3 separate regions of the Homo sapiens genome follow, and all the other regions are linked to region 1. Evidence: promoter capture Hi-C in 16 types of primary human blood cells and fetal thymus (Javierre and others, 2016). All regions are on one chromosome and are shown on one strand. Each heading gives the region's core, a stretch centred on a gene start or on the middle of the fragment in contact. The rest is flanking DNA. Distances are from core to core; before and after follow the strand shown. Region 1 holds the start of SARDH (sarcosine dehydrogenase). Region 2 has its middle 3.9 kb from the start of BRD3OS. Region 3 has its middle 12 kb from the start of VAV2.

Region 1 (2,879 bases), core at 239-2,738:
ACGTCAGTATGAATGACTGATATAATTATCTAAGAAAGTCAGCATCCTTTTTCAAGAGTGGACCATAGCTATGCACGTTCGTTCACTCTCATTGAACACCTATAGACACATGATAATGTCTCTACTTCACAGCGGGGGAGTCTGACACACGGAGAGGCTCCCTGAGGTGACCAGGGTCATAGGGCCTCCATGTGGCAGTGCCAGGGACTCTCTCCTGCCCCCTCTTCTGACCATCCCAGGGGGACTCAGGACCCACTGCCACACTCTGTCCCACCTGAACTGTGGGCACTGCCCAAGCCCTGACGAAGCCCAGAACCCTGTCCTAGGCACAGTGGGGGATGTGAGGGGGATCCCAGCTCTCAGGCTGGTCAGGGCTGCCCCCCATCTCCTGCCCCAGTGCCCCATCCCAAGGGAGGGAGCAGGGAGTCTGATTGCAGCGGCGTAGGGGAGTGAGGAGGTGTTGGAGCTTGTCCTCAGCCTCTCAGCCCTCAGTGTGTCAGCCCGCCTGGCTCCTGCCTGCAGAGGTGGCCCCGGACAAGGAGGCATGCCTCCTGCATGTGTCTGTACATACCTTCAGTCCTTGAAGGTCCACAGTCTTCCAGGAGCCCCCAAAAGTGGTGCCCCACCAGGGGAAAGCCAGCTTGAGTGGCACCGAGGAAGGCCCTCCAAGGCTGAACACCCCCACCCCACCACCCACCACCCACCACGGTGCCGCATGGCACAGCACACCTGGTCAGCTGTGGGCAAAAGCCTCCCTCCTCCTTCCGACTGTGCCCAAAAAGCGACAGCTGCTGGCGCCGGAGGCTGCCACGTGCCCCTTCACCACCTGCCTGGTCAGTCAGGGCTCTTCTGACTGTCAGACTGGGGGCTGGCAGCGGCCCCAGCGGGGACAGCCCAGAGCCCCTCCTGCCTGCCACCTCCCTGGAAACAGCTGCCTCCACATTAACCCACTCTCTTGCCCCCTCCAACTCTGTCTCGTACCTGAGTCAGCTTCCCAGGAGTGAGGGCTGAGGACAGCCCTGGGCTTGGGATCAGACAGATGGGTGGGGGTTTTGTCACAGGACTGGGGCCTCGAGCAACAACTTAACCTCACTGCAAAGCAGAGGACCCAGGAACGCCCTCCTCCTCCCAGGCTCAGGGGGTGGTGGGGGTCAAGCGAGGAGAGCGCCTGGCACCTTCGCCTGGTGAGGGTAGGCAGACTTGTGGGGAGGAGCGGCAGGGGGCGGGGAGGCAGCTGCCCATATGGTGAACCCTGGTCCTGCTCATGCAGCTGGATGGTCCCTGCAGCCAGAGGCAGAGGGAGATCCCAGCCAGATCTGACCAGGCCCAGCCCCGCCCACATAGGGGAGGCCCCAGCCTCGTCCCTCCCTGGGGGTGTACCTCCAAGTACCTCTTGTCAGCTGCAGTGCCCCTCGGCCCTAAGAGTGCTTGGCCCAGCAGAGGTGCCTTCACCTTCTTGCTTCCCAAGCAGTGGCCTGGCCGGAACTCCAGGCCTCCCCCGCCCCCCACCCTCGCTGCCAGCCCCATGTCTCCGCCCAGGATCTGGGCGGAGCGTACCGCCCACCACTGCGGCTTCTAGGCCAGCTTAGTTGGGGCTTCTAGGCCAGCCCTGTGGGCAGCTCCCTCTGAGGGCGGCAGAGCAGGGTTGTGAACCCCATGCCCCATTACCCGTAGGCGACCTGGCAGTCACCCTTCCGCTCCAACCCTCATTTCCTCGTCTCTGAAACAGGCGCCTCAGGGTTGCTGCAGTAGACCCAGGCACCACCTGCCTGCTGGAGCCGCCCGAGCTCCCCGCGCCCAGAAGGAGCTATGCACAGGCAGGGTGGGCAGGAAAGGTGGGGTCAGCAGCAGCTTGGGCCAGGGGCCCGTCCACTGCAGGGAGGCTCCTTTGGTGAGGTCATCTCAGCACATGCCCCAGTTTGCTCACCCCCAGGGACAGGATGCTCACTGCCTTCAGAGGCGAGTGAGAAGGCCTGGGTCAGCTTCCCAGGGACAGGGTCTCCTGGTCTGTCTGCGTCCTGCTTTCCCGAGCTCCCAGACCCCTCTGGTGTTTGGGGAGATGCCCCCAAGCCACTGGCTACTGCACAGCACGTAGCCCCCAGGGCAGGGATTCCAGCCTCCATTGACTGTTGGGGACAGCAGTGCCCAGGGAGGGGGCCACACAGCAAGCTGGTGGAGGAGGCAGACCGGATGCTGCAGCCTGACTCTGGGCTGGGGCAAGTTACCCCTTCCCAGACAGAAGTAGACACCCAGAGGAGGGGTGTGGAGGAAACCCAGAAAGAATACACCTCTGGATGCCCAAAGAATCAGAACAGGTGCTGATGGAAAGTCACATCTCCTCCTCGCGCTGGATCAAAGACGGGGCATTTCAATGGCAGTCTGTTAATATTGTAATGATGCCAGCTGCCAATACCGGAAGCGATCGTATAGTAAACTGCTGTAATTAATACCAATCAAATCATTGTGTTCTTATTCACACCGAGGATGTCCGACTGTCTTGTTGCCAGCTTGTCTATCCTCTACATTTACTGAATGCCCAATGTGTACAAAGCACTGCTGGGAAACCTATAGTGACATCTAAGACCCAGCCCCTGCCCTCGAGGGGCTCAGGGTCCACGAAGCAGACAGATCCAGGGAGAGACACGACACCACAAGGCTGGCTTCCTTCCAGCAGGGAATCCAGGAGGACCTCTTAGAGGAGGGGGCCTGGGCTCTGGGCCTGACCACGTGCTGACACCATTCTCAGTCCCTGCCTCAAAGGCAAAGGGCCCACTGGCTTAGGCCCCTGGCTGCCCAGTGGAAAGCTGGCCCCGCCAGTTTGAGGCTTACCTGGGGTGGTGTGGGGGTCCTGGGGCAGAGGACCTCCTCTTTGGATGGTG
Region 2 (2,879 bases), core at 184-2,683, 280 kb after region 1:
AGTAGAGACAGGGTTTCACTATGTTGGCCAGGCTGGTCTCCAACTCCTGACCTCGTGATCCACCCGCCTCAGCCTCCCAAAGTGCTAGGATTACAGGTGTGAGCCACCTCGCCCAGCCCTGTCTTATTAATTTTAATAATTTGTCTGAGATTCTCCTGAATTTGTACTGTTAATTGAAAAAAGAACCCCACAATATCCATAAATACTCTGTTGCCCAGGCTGGAGTACAGTGATGCAATCATGACTCGCTGCGACCGCTGCCTCCTGGGCTCAAGCAACCCTCCTGCCTCAGCCTCCCAGGTAGCTGGGACTATAGGTGCCTTTCACCATGCCCAGGTACTTTTTGTAGAAATGGGGTTTTGCCATGTTGGCCAGGCTGGTCTTGAACTCCTGAGTTTAAGTGATCTGCCCGCCTTGGCCTCCCAAATTGCTGGGACTACAGGTGTGAGCCACTGCGCCTGGGTGACTTTCTTTCTCATAAAGGGTTACAGCCAGCAAGGTGGCCATCCCACAGGCTGGAAAATGTGCCTCTGAAGGAGGAGGGGTTGGGGCAGGAGCTCCATGCTGAACAGGTTGGCTAAACATACACATTCAACAGGTTATAGGAGGAGCTATGAATATTCATGAAGGTCCTGACAACATGCATACTGAACAAACATGCATGTAACATACAACTCATGTTCACCTTGGGGTGGAGACTTAGCATCAAAATGTACTAAAATTAGGCCTTATAGGCTGGGTGCAGTGGCTCGCGCCTGTAATCCCAGCACTTTGGGAGGCTGAGGTCTGGCCAATACGGTGAAACCCAGTCTCTACTAAAAATAAAAAAAAAACTAGCTGGGCACCGTGGTGCACACCTGTAGTCTTAGCTACTTGGGAGGCTGAGGCAGGAGAATCACTTGAACCCAGGAGGCGGAGGTTGCAGTGAGCCGAGATGGCACCACAGCACTCCAGCCTGGGCAATAGTGGGAGACTCCGTCTCAAATAAATAAAAATATATACATACATAAAATAAAATTAGGCCTTATAGTAAAAAGGTCTTTCCAGGACACAAAAGCACACAAGTATGCAGCCTCTCTGAACCAGCCGGAACCAATCCATAGTCAGTGGTCTTACCTGGAGAAAGTTGCTGAAATCAGTCTCTTGTTCAATGAAAGCTGTAGTTGGCTGGGCATAGTGGCTCACACCTGTAGTCCCAGCACTTTGGGAGGCCACGATGGGAGGATTGTTTAAGCCCAGGAATTTGAGATCAGCCTAGGCAACATGGCAAAACCCCATCTCTACCAAAAATACAAAAAGTAGCTGGGTGCAAACTCCACCTCCCGGGTGGACCTACTGGTACACCTAGTGGTGCACACCTGTAGGCCCAGCTACTTGGGAGGCTGAGGTGGGAGGATTGCTTGAGGCTGGGAGGTTGAAGCTGCACTCAGCCAGGATTGCACCACTGCACTCTAGCCTGGAGGACAGAGTGAGACGCTGTTTCAAAAGAAGAGAAAGCTAGTTATGGTGGGTGAATGGGGTCAGTTAGCATCTGGAGCTGGATGAGCTGCAAATCGTTTTAACATTGTTTATCTTGAGGTCAGTACTTACTTAGCTGCTAGAGAAAAGGAACAACCTCGTGGCAGTGAGAATAGAGTTTATTCTTTAATTGTAGAGGTGTAGGACTTAACTTGTGCCTGGCATGGCCCTAAATCTTATTAATTAATTAATTTATTTATTTTTGGAATCAGAGTCTCACTTTGTCACCCAGACTGGAGTGCAGTTGTGCCATCTTGGCTCACTGCAACCTCCACCTCCTGGGTTCAAGTGGTTTTCCTGCCTCAGCCTCCCAAGTAGCTGGGATTACAGGCATGCGCCACTATGTCCAGCTAATTTTTGTATTTTTTGTAGAGATGGGGGTTCACCATGTTGGCCAGGCTGGTCTCGAACTCTCAGCCTCAAGTGATCTGCCCGCCTTGGACTCTCAAAGTGCTGGGATTACAGATGTGAGTCACCATGCCCAGCCACAGGTCTTATTTATAATTTGGTATGTTATCGCCATAAAGAGTCTGTTTTTCAGTCTTCTATGTTTTCAGTCTTACATATTTTAACGCAAATGCTAGTGCCTTGTCTCTAAGTCACCAAAGGGAGGAGTTATAACGACATGAGTGGGCTCTCCTATCCCATCGTGGCTGGGAACTCAGTTTTAAGTTTTTTCTGAGGTCCCCTTGGCCAAGAGGGGATCCGTTCAGTCAGTGAGGAGTTTAGGATTTTATTTTTAGTTTATATTCCCTTCTTTTGGCCAAGATTTGCCAGAGATGGCATTGATGACCAAACTTTTATTTTGTCCTATATCGTTGCTGGGGCTGTGTGCTACCTGCACTGGGTCCATCTTGTCCCTTGGTGGGATCCCTATGGCCAAGAGACTTAGAGCCAAAAGACTGAAAGACAGCTAATTAAATGTTTTAGGACAGATAGGAAAGGAGATGGGCAGGCACTCATTCACCCTTAAAAACCTTTTGTGCAGCCAGGTGCGGTGGCTTATGCCTGTAATCCTAGCACTTTGGGAGTCTGAGGCGGGTGGATCACGAGGTCAGGAGTTTGAGACCAGCCTGATCAACATAGTGAAACCCTGTCTCCACTAAAAATACAAAATGAGCCAGGCATGGTGGCACATGCCTGTAACCCTAGCTACTCGGGAGGCTGAGGCAGGAGAATCACTTGAACCTGGGAGGCGGAGGTTGCAGTGAGCTGAGATTGCACCATTGTACTCCGGTCTGGGCGACAGAGCGAGATTCCATCTCAAAAAAATCAAAATAAAACAAACAACAACAACAACAAAAAACAACCTTTTGTGCAACATAAGAGGCAAAAACCAAAATCCAAAACGTGAGGTTACA
Region 3 (2,879 bases), core at 239-2,738, 270 kb after region 1:
ACCCATCCCTCCATCCATCCATCCATCCACCCATCCACCCATCCACCCATCCACCATTCCATCCTCCCACCCATCCATCCACTCAGCCCTCCATCTATCCATCCACCCTCTACCCATCCACTCATCCATCCATCCATCATTCATCCACCCATTTATCCACCCATCTACCCATCCACCCATGTGTCTATCCACCTACCCAACCATCCATCCACCATTCATCTGTACATGTATCCAGCCATCCATCCATCCATCCATCCGTACATTTATCCATCCATCCATCCATCCATCCATCCATCCATCTGTACATTTATCCATCCATCCATCAATCCATCCATCCATCCACCCTGTGCAAGGCCTGGGGAGATGCAGAGCCAGTCTAGGATTGTCACAGTGTCAGGAGGGAGGTGTCAGATGTGTCTGAGAAACAGAGGCTGCTGCCCTGGCCTCTTGTCTGCTAGGGAGGTCCCAGGGGTCCTAGAGGGTGCTGTGTTGTTTCTGAGCAGAGTTAGACACCTGCAGATGCCCTGAGCCCCCTCCCATCCCACCACACACCCCAAGCTTCATGTTGATGCTGTGTGGCAACTGTGCTGAACCTATCAGAGGTCTCCAAGGCAAGTGTTCTCCCAGGGTCACCAGGCTCATCCTGGCTCCAAAGAAGTGGGTTTTGCTGCTAGGGCCATGGTGAATTTCTTGGCTCCATCCCGTGGGAGAATGTGAAGGTCTGATTGCAGCTTCTGTGGGGCCCACGGGTGGGCTCAGGCTGGAGATGTTGATCTCAGACCCCAGTGGTGACTGTGGCACATCCAGGATGGGAGAGGCCGGTAGGAATGGCCTCCTGAGACTGGGAACCCCTTGAGAAGAACCCCAAGGTCTGGCCTCCCCAGCCTCTCACACATGCTCGGGGCTGTCTGTAGGAGAGCCAGGGGCTTCCCCAAGTAGGGGCTCCACCCAGTCACTCTGAGGCCCTGGGCAGGCGAGTCAAAACTCTGGCCTCTGGCCTCTGTGTGAAATGGGCACAGCAGGTACCCAGGGCGCTGAGATGGCCGCATGCCCAGCGCTGAGGACAGCTGACCCTCCCCTGGCTCAGGGCCCATGCAGTCTCCTCCAGGGTCCTAGCTCAGAGCTCCATGCTCGCCTGCCGTGACGCTAGGAAGTCCCTCCCATAGCCATCTTCACTTCCCTGAATGGTCCAAGCTCCCATGGGCTTACTCGGCAGAGGGTGGACCCGCTTCTCTCAAACACCAGTGGGGCCACCCAGGGTCCCAGCGCCCCACGACAAAAAGGGCAGGCAGTGGGGAAGTGGATGCTCAGCCCCCGCAGGTCACGTGCAGCCTGGACAGCTCCCCTCTGTGTCTGTCACCGGGAACCTTTGGCCCAGAGTGTGGCCCAGCTGGCCTGGCTCCTCCCAGGCCCTGGCTGCCTCAGATGTGAGCCTGGAGGTGGCCACTCTGAGGCCCCTGCTCACACCCTCGCCACTGCCACCCGGACATGGGGCCATCCCACGGTGACAGGCACGTGCACCAGCACAGGTGTGTCCTCCTGTGGAACATTTAACTTGAGCTGCACCAGGCACTGCGTTATTATTTCTCCTCCCCCAGCCCACGGCTTCCCTTCTCTGTCCCTCCAGGGCCAAATCGCAGATCACGGTCCTCATGATCTGTCTGCCTTGGCAGCCCGGGGTGTCATGAACCCGGCCAGCTCTGCGCCCAGGTGCTGATCACTGATGTTCTCATTGCGTTTGCAACAGGCCTTTGTCAATGGCCGCCATCCCCACATACCCATGCCCAGCTGTGTCCCCAGCCCTCCTGCTACCACGGCCCGAAAGGGTCAAGCAGTGCTGCCAGCCGTGCCCCAGGAGGGACCTGCTGGCTTCCTGGCCCTGCCGCCTCTTCTCCAGGTGAAATGGACCCTGCTATGCCCCAGTAGCCAGTGGCGTCCTGCCCCCTCCCCTCCCCTCCGCTCCCACCACTTGGTGCCTGGAGGAGCCCAAGGACGCTAACCCCTGCATGCTATTATGGGCTGGCTCACCTTAAGGAACCCCATTGCTGAGGGCAGGTGGGCACGGAGAGTCCCTAGCACAAGGGAGCAATCGCTAAAACCTCCCCCAGTGGTGAGCTGGGATGAGACGCCCATGGGAGGGAACATACTGGTGGGTGCGATGCCTCAGACTTTTGAGCGGCTGGGGGCTCATCGTTAGATGGGTGGCCATGGATGGCTGTTGCAGGGAGGCCTGAATGCGCTGAGGAAAGCCAGCGAGCAGCTGAGGGCCATTGATCACCCTTTCCAGTGAGGCAGGAAAGCCAGAGGACCTCTTTGGCAGCTTCTCTAAAGAGGCTTTCAGCTCTGGTGGCTGTCGGGGAGAAAAAGCTGAGATCTGGCCCAGCCCAAGCTGAGGAGCTCCAGAGAAGGGCAGATTCACAAGCTTAGCAAGTATTTTTGGTCAACAGCAGGACCCTGACTGGGACCCAGTGTGGCCACAGACTCAGGTCGGGGACACCTAGGGCAACACACCCGAAAGTCATACTCCTTGTGACCCCTCTGAAACCTCTGGGCCTGGCCCGGTGTAGTGGCTCATGCCTGTAATCCCAGCACTTTAGAGAGCCAAGACAGGCGGATCACCTGAGGTCAGGAGTTCGAGACCAGCCTGGCCAACATGGTGAAACCCCGTCTCTACTAAAAATGCAAAAAAATAGTCAGGCTGTAATCCCAGCTACTTGGGAAGCTGAGGCAGGAGAATCACTGGAACCTGGAGGCAGAAGCTGCATGAGCCAAGATCGCACCACTGCACTCTAGCTTAGGCAACAGAGTGAGACTCTGTCTCAAAAAAAAGAAAAGAAAAAAGAAACCTCTGGGCCTGTTAGAGGCTGGTATGGGCCCCT

Evidence for each region. Contacts are between HindIII fragments. The CHiCAGO score rates a contact against its expected background, and 5 or more counts as called.
Region 2: a contact is called between a fragment that was not itself captured here and the fragment with the promoter of SARDH in region 1, in 1 of 17 cell types (endothelial precursors). The highest score is 5.1, in endothelial precursors.
Region 3: a contact is called between a fragment that was not itself captured here and the fragment with the promoter of SARDH in region 1, in 1 of 17 cell types (endothelial precursors). The highest score is 5.3, in endothelial precursors.

Annotation. Positions count from the first base shown.
Region 1 is chr9:133,736,864-133,739,742 of GRCh38, forward strand. It overlaps SARDH (sarcosine dehydrogenase), which reads right to left and starts at 1,489. Exons shown (of 21, transcript NM_001134707.2): 1 at 1,391-1,489. The HindIII fragment of the contact is 9,698 bases long and covers 1-2,879 here.
Region 2 is chr9:134,020,169-134,023,047 of GRCh38, forward strand. No RefSeq gene overlaps it. Among named protein-coding and RNA genes, the nearest start is that of BRD3OS, 3.9 kb to the right of the region's middle. The HindIII fragment of the contact is 3,675 bases long and covers 1-2,879 here.
Region 3 is chr9:134,003,275-134,006,153 of GRCh38, forward strand. No RefSeq gene overlaps it. Among named protein-coding and RNA genes, the nearest start is that of VAV2, 12 kb to the left of the region's middle. The HindIII fragment of the contact is 1,864 bases long and covers 557-2,420 here.